Regions from separate parts of the Homo sapiens genome. Here regions 1 and 2 are each linked to region 3. Evidence: promoter capture Hi-C in 16 types of primary human blood cells and fetal thymus (Javierre and others, 2016). All regions are on one chromosome and are shown on one strand. The core of a region is centred on a gene start or on the middle of the fragment in contact, and the rest is flanking DNA. Distances in the headings are between cores, read along the strand shown. Region 1 overlaps LARP1B (La ribonucleoprotein 1B). Region 2 holds the start of LARP1B (La ribonucleoprotein 1B). Region 3 holds the start of HSPA4L (heat shock protein family A (Hsp70) member 4 like).

Region 1 (3,536 bases), core at 647-3,146, 380 kb before region 3:
AATGTCATGCAATGCCAAATTTATCTCCTTATTTGTGACTTGTATGCTTTCTATGATGTGCAAAGGAATATACATTCTCAATTTTAAAGTATTCAAATTTAACAAGGCAAAAAATCCAGCAATTTAACTGAACAGCCCTAGTGGGACACACTAAGAACTTTAAAGAAAGCTTTAAAGTATGAAGTTTTTAAAAGTTTACAGTTTAAAGAACTCTAAAAGAAGTTACCTTTCAGTATTTATAATATTATTATTTAATGTTATTGTTATTCTGGAACTATTATATCATAGGATTAGCAAATAAATAATTATGTTACTGTGGTTAGGAAGAAAGATTTTTTATATATAAGTAAAAAGCAATACAACTACAAAATCAAAGAAATTAAAATTAAAACCTATAATCTTAAATTTAGACAGAAAATATCAACATGAATACGTAATATATTTTTCTCCTTAAAAAATTTCCTAGCTCTTTCTATTCAAAAGGCCTAGAAACAAGGACCAACTGAGTAGCAGATCCGGTACTGACAAAGCTCAACCTTGGTGGGGGCTCAACCTTCTGTGGGGTGGGAAACATTAAAGTTAACAGTCCAACTCCATTATTACTGAGCAAGAAAATGAAAGGTGGCTTTAGAGCTAAAAGTCAATAAACTGATAACTGGCATAGGTATCAATAATAATAATAATAACTGTAATAGAATGAAACCCATCTCATGTATTTATGAGTTCACAATGATCATTTAAAAACAAACAAACAAAAACTTCATTAGTCACCAGCGAAGAATGTTAAGGAACCAGCTAGTACTTTGAAACTAGTAAACAAAGGGAAATAATTCAGCACTGACTCACTTTCCTGTAAGAACTCTATCTCAGAATAAATAAATATTCTGGGGAAAGTTCTCTTTATAAAAGTATTCTACCTATTAAGGTAAGACGTAATGATTAAAAATAGAATCATCACTATTTTGCAACCCCTAGTAAAATAAAAGCTTCACTCACTGATCATCAATGACTGCTAACATTACAAAAAGAGACAATAGAGCATTATGTATCTCCTAATAGTATTCAATACTACATATGACATATTCTTACAGAGATTTGAGTCTTAATCTAATCAAGTCTCTATGCTGAACTAACAGTTATAGATAATTCAGGACTAGAAAACAGGTTAAATGAAACCATGGGGATGCAATCAGCAAAATTCAGAATGTGAAAAATTCTACAAGACAAACAACCCAGTTTCTTCAATACCAAATTGCAAGGACCAATAAATTATAAGGCAAAAAATAGTAGAAACCTGTAGACTAAAAAAGACATATCAATCTATTGCAATCTATTTGAAGAAACTGGAAAAAAAAAGTGATGAATGAGGAAATTTGAACACTAGATATCTAACGTTAAGGAATTACTGTTAATTTTAGATATGATAATGTCCTGCTATTTATGTGTTAAAAGATATAGCCCTTATCTTTTTAAAGACACATACAGAAATCTTTAAGGACAAAAAAATATGAATCATGTGATTGAGAATTTGTTTAAAAATAATCCACAGGGAGGTATAGGAGTTACTGGAGTCGAGACAAAATTGGGTATGAGATGATTAAGTATAGCAGGTACATGGGAGTTTTATTATAAAATTCACTCTATCTTTGTATATGTGTGACTTTTTATAAATCATTTTTTTAACCACCTTCAGGAAAAGGCTATAATAAAATCAGTTATACTTGTCTGAAATGTCAGATTCAATTTATGGATCTCCCAATGTATTTATTTACACTCTCACACAGAGCTAAGCCCTTAAAACAAAAGAATGACTCTAGCGCATTCTAAGGATCAGTGAGTCAGTGAAAAATTTTATTTTGGGAAGAGAAACATTCCCAGCAATCTTAAAATCACATCAGATACATAAAGAACCAACAAATTCTGCCTACTTCTAAGTAAGCCTCTGGCTTTGAGCATAATCTGGTGTGATAATAGAAGTTCACAAAAGGATAAAAGTTGAGTTTTAAAATTCTAGCATTTTACCATTTACCTAATGATTTTCCACAAATAAAGAAAAAAAAGGAGCAATTTTTAAAAACAATTCAGAACTGCTTTAATACTATTCAGACACTTACACAAAAGCAGATTTACATACCTTGCCTGGACTGTGAAGGTGCTACAGGAACTTCTTGGTTTGGCTCAAAAGGAAGTTCAGGTGTTAGGTTTTCAAACTGCTCTTTACTAATGAGATTTAGCTTCTTAAAGTTCTCAACTTCTTGCTGAAGTAGAATGGAGGAATCTAATTACTAAACTGGCTAACAGAGTAACCAACAGACAATAATTGATACCAACCTCAAAAAAATGAACTTCTAAAACAGGGATTAATTACAATGGAGTGAAAAAGACGTTCTAATAAAGAGTCTAGCATTATACTTAATAACAACATTCAGAATCTAAGAGGCATATAACACCCTAAAATATTATAATGATTTTATAATTAAAAAACATTATAAGACCACACATACTAATCATTAATTATTTGTTGAGCATTTACATACAAGACTACCAGGTATTACAGACGTTACAAAGTAATCTAATACATGTTCCCTACCATTAAGGAATTTATATGTTAGATGAAAAGGAAGAAATGAACACATAAAAATAAATAATATTAGGTAGTATGTGAAGAGCGATATTGGTGTAAGAATTACGATCATCAGGAAGCCATCACAGGAGAGATGGGACAAAAGCACCTCTTGAAGGATGAGAATTTAGAGAAAGGGAGAAACATTCTAAATAGGTAATGAGAGCAAAGATAAGAAGCTTGGAAAAAGCAATGTGTTTATTACAAAGTAATTAAGTGACTAAGAAAATCTGTGTAGAACCAGTGGCAAAGAGGACTGATGAGGAAGTTGGAGAAAGCTACTAGAAGACCTTTAATACTGGGTCAAGAAGATTTCACTTTGTTTTATAATAATGGGATGCATGTGATAAAGATAAATCTGGATGGCCCTGGATAGCTGCAGCAAAGAGACTCAGTATATTTGAGTTGTTAGCTCAAAGGAAGAATAGACCCCTCCCTGCCTCTGGGGTTCTGGAGGCTTCCCCTTTGTAACTACTATTGCATAGTCACTTAAGTGTTTCCGGCCCTGACCTACAAATGTGTGGAGCATTACAGAGGGTAGAGGTCATTCTCTACTGGAAGTTCACTTGGCCACAGGTGAACTTAAAGGTTGAACCCTAAAGGTTGAACCCTATGGTTCACCCAGGTGAACCATAAAGACCCTCTATGTCTGGCCTAAACTGTGAGATAAAAAAGGAGTTTGAGGGACTGCTTACACTCCACTATTTCTTCTAAGTTTTTCCCAATAAAACCCTATATCACATCTACTCCACATGGTACTAATGGGTACATGAATCTTTACAGGGCAACATCCAAAGCGGGTTTAAGCAAGTAAAAAACATAAGAAAGAATTTTTCGGGTTGAAGCAAATTTAAAACAGGAAGGAAATTAAATATCATTACAAAATAGTTGTAGCTTGCTCTTAATAACAAAA
Region 2 (3,645 bases), core at 1,121-3,620, 280 kb before region 3:
TCAGCCTCCCCAGTAGCCGGGATTACAGGCATGCGCCACCACGCCAGGTTAATTTTGTATTTATAGTACAGACAAGGTTTCTCCATGTTAGTCAGGATGGTCTTGAACTCCTGACCTCAGGTGATCCACCTGCCTCGGCCTCCCAAAGTGCTGGGATTACAGGCGTGAGCCACCGCGCCCGGCCAGATACTGCTTTTTGTCATGGTTTTTATTTCCATTTTAACTTTTTTTTTTTTTTTTTTTTTTTTTTTTTTGAGAGTGGGTCTCACTCTGCCGACCAGGCTGGAGTGCAGTGGCGCGATCTCGGCTCACTGCAACCTCCACCTCCCGGGTTCAAGCGATTCTCCCTGCCTCAGCCTCTCAAGTAGGTGAGATTACAGGCGCCCGCCACCACGCCTGGCTAATGATCGTATTTCTAGTAGAGACGGGGTTTCGCCATATTGGCCAGCCTGGTCTCGAACTCCTCACCTCAGGTGATCCGCCCGCCTCGGCCTCCCAAAGTGCTGGGATTACAGGCGTGAGCCACCGCGCCGGCCCATTTTTACTTTCTTAAGTTGCAGTTACTACAATCAAAATAAAGCACCGACGGCCATACAGCATTGGTCAGCATTCAAATATAGTGGCATAATCTTATCTCCTCTAAAGGGAAGGAGAGCTGACAATGTTAGAAAACCATTTACCTAACGTGCAATCCACGCTCGCATGTCAACTATCCTATTTCAATTATTTTCCAGCACACTTATAACTTAAAGCACTTTATTTTTTTTAATTATACTTAAAGTTTTAGGGTACATGTGCACAACGTGCAGGTTACACATGTATACATGTGCAGCCATGTTGGTGTGCTGCACCCATCAACTCGTCATTTAACATTAGGTATATCTCCTAATGCTATCCCTCCCCCCTCCCCCCATAAAGCACTTTAAAAACCACATTTAAAGTCTCATTTTTAATATGACTGCTCAGCAGTGTTTTGAAAACCTTTTTTCATCTTATTTCACAAAAGACTACAATCGCGCTTCCACTTACGAATAAATCCCCTTGCTCTGACTTGCTTCAATCCTTTTATGTAAAAAAAAAAAAAAAAAAGTCTACCAAAACTTTCCCATACGAAGCACTGCAGTATCTAAAGTTAGCTACTTTCCCAAGTCACTAACACTGGGGACAAAACACAATCGCAACCGCGCCAGCAGGGATGCGCCGCCAAGCTACCACCTCCGTGCCCCCATCAGGCAAGGAGAACCTGAGGTCCCACCTCTTCCTGCCGCTCCCTTCCCAGATGCCCATGTCTGTAAATAGGCAGAGTGAATGACACCTTGGAACAAATTACCTCCGACTGACAGGGAGGGGAGGCCTGCCGTTACCCGGGCCTGGTGCCCGCTACCGCCGCCACGCGCCGGCAAGTCCCGCAAGTCGCCCCTGCCCGCACCCTGCCAGTGCCCAACGCAGAGCAACCACAGACCTGCCTCCAGGGTTTCCAGCGGGGGCGGTGGCGGACCTGTCGTGTCTGGGGACAGGTGCTGGGGAGGCTTTTTGGTCCAGGGATTTCCCTTAGGCGGCAGCAGCGGCGGCTGCCGCTTTTCCGCAGGGCCAGCTGCCACCTCTTCCCGGGCGTCCTCGGCCGGCGGATCCCGCAGCAACGGCGGCAACGGCGACGGCGGCGGCGGTGGCGGTGGCGGCTCCCCGCCGAAAGGGCCCCCGGGCCCACGCGCCTTGTGCGCCAGGTGCAGCGCCAGGGGCCTCACGGGGACAGCCGCCTGGGGCACGCTGCGTCCCAGCACCAGCGCCGGCGACGGCTCTCCCCGCGCCCCAGCGCTAGTGGCGGCCGCGGCCCTCTCCTCCCTCGCCGCCTCTTTGCCCTCACATTCGGGCGGGGGCGGCTGCTCGGCCGGCCGGTTCGCCGCGGCCAACAGCGACTCCCTCTCAGCAGTCACCGCGGGCGGATCCTCCCGAGAATGGGCGGCGGGCATCGGGGCGCGAGTAGACATCGTCCCTCTGCCCCAGCCGCCCCAGCCGGGGTGGCCCCGAGGCCAGGGAACCCGACTGCCCGTCTCTCCGCCGGGACACCGGCCGGCTCCAACTGGGGACAGACAACCCGAGAGCCCGGCGGCCGTGGCCGCCGCTGCCGCCGCCCGCCGAGGCCGCGCAGCGCCCGGCGTGACGCCCCTCCCCGCACCGAACGGAGCGCCAACCGCCCGCCGGCCCCGTCCTCTCCGCGACGCACGCCCCGAGCCCGCCACCACGCGCCGGGAGCCGCAGCCGGGAGCCGCGAGCCCTCACCTGGCGCAGGGCAGCCGCGGAGGCGCAGCACGCCGAGGCCGAGGAGCTTTACCCGAGTTGGGGAGGCGCGAGCAGCCAAAGCTGGTAACTGCCCGCGGAGGCGTGGAGACGGCGAAGAGGGGCGGCCCGAGAGCACGGGGCGGGGCCTCCCTGAGGAGCGTGACGTGGCTACTCACCGGGTCCTTCTCTCGCCGGGCCTCCCGCGGGAGCTGACGGATTCGCCCGCCCGGGTGCCGCCCGGCCCGAGGGTCTGCCCCGCCCCAGCTGCCCTCCGAGTGCGAGGGAGGACGAAGGGGACGACTCCCGGCTCACTGGCTGAGGCCGCCCCGACTGCAGGCTCAGGGGCGGAGCGCGCACCAGGCCTCTGTGGCTCGCGGCTGGCTCGCGGCCTGCCCCCGCGGCGACGGCGGCCAAGGGCCTGGGCGGGCCGCGCACATGGCGCTGGGAGGACCGAGCGCTCGATTTGCCCTTAGGCCCTAAAGCTGGGTCGCAGCTAGGCTAAGGGAGGGGACGCGGTGTCGACCCCCGGCCTGGGGCAGCTCCCAAGTGAAGTGGGCTCCGCGGCCCGGCCGCTTGGCCCGCTGGCGCCCGGCGCCTCCCCCAGGTGAAAGTTGCCTCCTGGCGCCTCGGGGCACCGCGATCACCTGTAATCTTGAGCCACGTCCCAGATGAAGGGGGAGTTACCTCTCGGTAACTGTTTAGGAAACCTTTGCCCCAGCGTTCGGCTTAGTGCGCTTCCCCGCCCGCATTCCCACCCACCAACTAAAAGAGTTCTAAAGCGTTCCTGAGTAAATTAAATAGTATTTCGCCGGCTTTTAAAATTTTTTGTTACCTGTTTCTTTAATTTGGGTAAATAGCACTTAATTACAAATTAACCATATTCCCAATAGGTTTTTTCTTCCTGGAATGGATGTTAAAATGGTACAAAGACGTTTTGATAATAAATCGGATACGAGCTTTCTACTTGGCACTCACATTCACTTAGAGATGATACTCGTTTCATTTTTGAGTCAGTGTTTGTGTCCTGGTGCAAGGTGGCTGAGAGCAGGTTCCGCCGCTGATTTTTTTCCGAGCCCCCCACCAACCCCATAGCCTTGTTAAATAAATTATCTGTGCTCGCCTTATGTTTGGGCTTTCAACCCCCACCCCCCACCCCACGCCCAATAAGTCGCTTCAATTACATTCAACTTGACGTTAATATTTTTTGCTTACTCAAAAGCCGTATTCGGCACAAATAATTTTCCTAAGGCTAATAACCTATTCATACATAACAGCTATAAACAATAAGGGTTTTCTTGTTTTCCGTGTCAGTGATCTCCAGTTTGCCCAACCCTAAGCAACCTGGCGAACCTTGTTGCAATTAAA
Region 3 (3,815 bases), core at 373-2,872:
CAAAACGTTTAAAATTTCAATAGAAGAAACGTGTACATCTACGAAAAAAGGTATAAAACCTTCTAGAATCTTCTTGGAAAGAAATCAAAGCACAGACTGCTTCAAGTGAGCTACTCTTCAACATCTTTTTGCCATATTTTAAAGCTTTCCATAGAATAGTAAATGAGGCATTTAAAGACCATTGGACACTGACCTTGTTTTAGTATAGTTAAGGTATTATATTTTGGACCATTCAGAACGGTCAAATTAAGATGCCAAATTACCTTTCCATAAAAAGTAATATAGGTTTCATACAGTTGGTTTCCTCATAAAATTACCAGTAACAGCAGCCTATAAGCAGCAACTAGTTTTTCATATTTCAGAATTACTTCATTATATTCCTTGCCAACAAACTTCCCAGGCCAGAGAAACAACGGAACATGTGGAAACATGTTTCCATGACATAACGCCGCTCCTCCTAAGCCTTTCATTAAGCGTTCATAATAGAATCACTCCACAGTCATGTTTATACGGGACAGCTGCCCCCGACTCCGGCAATTCACTCTGCAGAAACACGCTTTTGGTCCGACCCAACCCCGCCGCATTCCAGCAACTGACGTAGTTACCAATGCACAAGGCCAGTGACTCCCATCCCGAGGCTCTCCCTATCAATGCACCATTGACCTGGCCCTGTAAACCGGCTCCATTACCTGCAGTTCTCAAGGGCACTGGGTTTTGTAAAACCCCACATGCCTCACTCCCCGCCCTTAAAAAAAAAAAAAAGGCTTTCGGGGCCAGATGAACCTGCAATTCATCTCTGACGTGTGCAGCCGAAGCTGACTTTTTACTTTTCTGAGAAAAAGCTGTCACCCAGAGGGACGGGGAAAGGAAGGAGGGCAGCTGGCGCGGGGCCGATAATCCCACGTAAACCTCGTTAGAGGCAACCGGAGATCTTTCTCAATATTCCGGACGCCAGGGGCTGTCCCACAGCAACCTCTTCCTCGCAAGCAAAAGAGGCGTTGGGGGACAGCGGCACGAGGCAGGGGACGTGCGTAGGTACAGAAAAGAGAGCTGCGCAAACTAGTGCGGTCCCTCGTCCTTGAAGGAAAAGAAGCTTTGCGGGGCGAGGAAGTCCGACTGCCACCCGGCGGTCTCTAGGGACTGCGGTTGACGGGTTGCACCTGTCATCTCGGGGTTCGGCGCACGTTAGGGGAAAATCCGAGGAAGCGAGCAGACAGGACAAACGTTAAGGACGGGAGAGAAAAACGTTTCTTAGGGTCGAGGTGATGCTCAGCAGAGGCACTTACGGGGTACACCTGTCGCTGTACTCATTGGCGATGGTCTCGATGCCGCCACTTCTCGCGACAGCAATGTAGCAGTTGAGAAAGCCGAGGTCAATGCCAACCACAGACATCCCGCCGCGTGATGGTCGGGCTGCTGGTACTGAACCCTTCGGTACGGGAACCGTGTCCTCTTCTGGGCTATTGCTGCTGGGATTGCGACTCCTACCAGAAGCAAACGAGAGGGGACCCCAAGTCGCTAAGCAGAAAATCTAGGGCAGGGAGTCGGAAACCCGCGGAAGGAGCAGAGGCCGTCAGCGCCGCAGCCTGCACCGCGTCCCGCAGCCTGGGTCTTTCCCTACTGCGGTTCGGCCGCCTCCAACCGGCGGTTACTGGGACCTGCGCCTGCGCGCTCGGCTGCCCGGGAGGCGCGCGAGCCTCCGCTCCGCGCCCGAGCCAGCTCCGGGCCCGGACTTCGGCCGCTTCCGTCAGCACTCGGGCAACGGCTGCCCAAGAAGCTGCGGGTTCGAGAAAGATCTGGAAAATGGAGGCTGCTGAGCTATCCGGGGGCGGGAGAAGCGGGAAGGCGGGGCGGGGAGGATCGGGGAAAGGAGGCTAGGCACATTGGCTTGCTCGCCCTCGCTCGGCAGTAGGACGTCGGGCGGTCGGGCTAGGTGAGAGGCAGGCGACCGGCCGGCCCGGGGCTTTGCGAACGTGTTTTGAGGCACATTTTTGGGTTGTTTTGGCAACCGGAGGCGTGCTTGTCACGGCGGCAGGATGCTGTCCTGGCTGGCGGGCGCCGCCCCCTCACCCCCTGCCCTCAGAAGGGCTCGCCCGCAGGCCTCGCCTCCCCGAGGGGCCCATGTGCAGCCCGGCGCCCTCCCCTTGTGGCTGGAGGCCCGCCGCGCCCGGCTCTGTGAGGTGGCGCGCATTGTCCGACGTCCGCCGCTCCGCCCTGTCCAGCCCCGGGGGAGCTGCCGAGCCCGGGACAGACTCTTGTGCGAAAGCGGGATGAGCACATGTTAGGTTTTTTTCTTTTTTCATCAGCAGGATTTGAAATATCAAAAGTCAAACTTCTGTCAAGAAATAAGATCACACTGACAACTTTCCCTCCACGTACCTTTCCTCACACCTTTCTAAAAGATGCTGGCCCCGCCGCTGACCCTTGTCTCTGGAAACCAGTTTTACAGGAAAGTGACCTTAATTAAGTGTGCCACTCACACCAGCCAAGTCTGTGCTTTAGCCTCCAGCCGCTGCCCTGTGGTCCTCAAAAAAGAGCCCAGTGTGGTCCAGCGCCCTCCCTCTTGGTTTGATCGGCATGTGTTGCCTGTCTGTAATTAACCAAGTTTTATGTTACACTTAAGAAATTTGGCTGTCTTGTTGCTTTTCGTTCACTTTTACGTGTGTGCCCTGTTCCTTCTCTGCCAGTCCTTGGTCTGTTCCCTGTTCCTCCCCGTCCTCTTCATCTAGTCTCTGTTCCTTCTCATCCAATTCTTTGTGTGTTTTCCTGTTCCATTTTGGTATCCATCTTGAAAACAGGCGTGTTTTTTTGTTTGTTTGTTTTGTTTACTAGATTCTTTAGTATTCTGATTATCCCTAGTTGTCCACTTCTTTAAATAACTTAGATTTTTTACTATTAATAATGTTGCTACAGCAGCAGCAGCAGCAAGGGTGGCTATAGTTCCTGCTGCTGTTAGAATGAACGTGAAATCCATTTTCAAGGGCAATACTGAGGCAACTGGATTGTACAGTATTGCTTGGGCTCTGGTCTCTACATTGAAGAAATCAATCAGGCCTCTCTTCCCTTCATGAGCACTCAGGAGACGTGGAGCCCCTGGGTGAAGCTGCGCTCTGAGACACCGCAGAACTCGGCGTCCCAGCGGGCAGCTCGTGAGCAGAACAGGGATTGGGCGTTGCCCTGCGACTGAACCCTGGGCCCTGGTCCTGCTGGGCGCCTGTGACTTCCACCAGTTCTCCTCACACACCTCTTCTGACATCGGCCATCACTATCTAGATTTATTCCAGAATATCCTGAAATTCTCCTAGTACAATTAATTTATCTTAATTCCATTAGTTTATCCATGTTGTCTATACAACTTGAGGGTGTAAGAATGTTTTTTTTTTTTCCTATTAAAAATACCACTTAAAATATCAAAGTAAAAAGGAAGTTGAGGCCAGGAGCAAAGTGGTGTTATCATCACGTTCCTTACAATTACTGGCAGGACGTGAGAGTACCCAGTGGTTAAAACCATGACGGGCTTTGGGGTCACACAGATTTGGGTTGTAGTACCAGGCTTGCCTAACTTACTACCTGTATAACGTTTGGCAAGTTACTTAATGCTCCAAGCCACAGGTTCAGTCTGTTAAAATGAGGACAAATATGCCTACTGGGCTGTTTTTATGATTAAATAATGTAAGCACTGCATCAGTCCCTGGCACCAAACGGTCAATAAATGCTAGCTATGCTTAGCTGCTGAATGATCCTGATTCATGTACATTGGTCATGTATCCAGCAACCTTGCTGTATTCTAAATTCAAGTATTTGCAGAATTTCTT

Evidence for each region. The method cuts DNA at HindIII sites, captures the fragments that hold promoters and counts their contacts. A CHiCAGO score of 5 or more calls a contact.
Region 1: a contact is called between a fragment that was not itself captured here and the fragment with the promoter of HSPA4L in region 3, in 1 of 17 cell types (endothelial precursors). The highest score is 5.2, in endothelial precursors.
Region 2: the fragment with the promoter of LARP1B here is called in contact with the fragment with the promoter of HSPA4L in region 3 in 1 of 17 cell types (megakaryocytes); the score reaches 7.6 in megakaryocytes.

The regions. Positions count from the first base shown.
Region 1 is chr4:128,160,916-128,164,451 of GRCh38, reverse strand. LARP1B (La ribonucleoprotein 1B) reads right to left here. Exons shown (of 20, transcript NM_018078.4): 12 at 2,135-2,258. Among named protein-coding and RNA genes, the nearest start is that of LARP1B, 100 kb to the right of the region's middle. The HindIII fragment of the contact is 1,816 bases long and covers 989-2,804 here.
Region 2 is chr4:128,060,037-128,063,681 of GRCh38, reverse strand. LARP1B (La ribonucleoprotein 1B) reads right to left here and starts at 2,370. Exons shown (of 20, transcript NM_018078.4): 1 at 2,281-2,370. RefSeq lists enhancers at 1,288-2,146, 2,147-3,005 and a silencer at 1,464-2,963. The HindIII fragment of the contact is 16,596 bases long and covers 1-3,645 here.
Region 3 is chr4:127,780,129-127,783,943 of GRCh38, reverse strand. It overlaps HSPA4L (heat shock protein family A (Hsp70) member 4 like), which reads right to left and starts at 1,622. Exons shown (of 19, transcript NM_014278.4): 1 at 1,287-1,622. The coding sequence starts at 1,393. RefSeq lists enhancers at 872-951, 560-1,552, 1,452-1,601 and silencers at 1,742-1,811, 2,092-2,261. The HindIII fragment of the contact is 4,318 bases long and covers 1,096-3,815 here.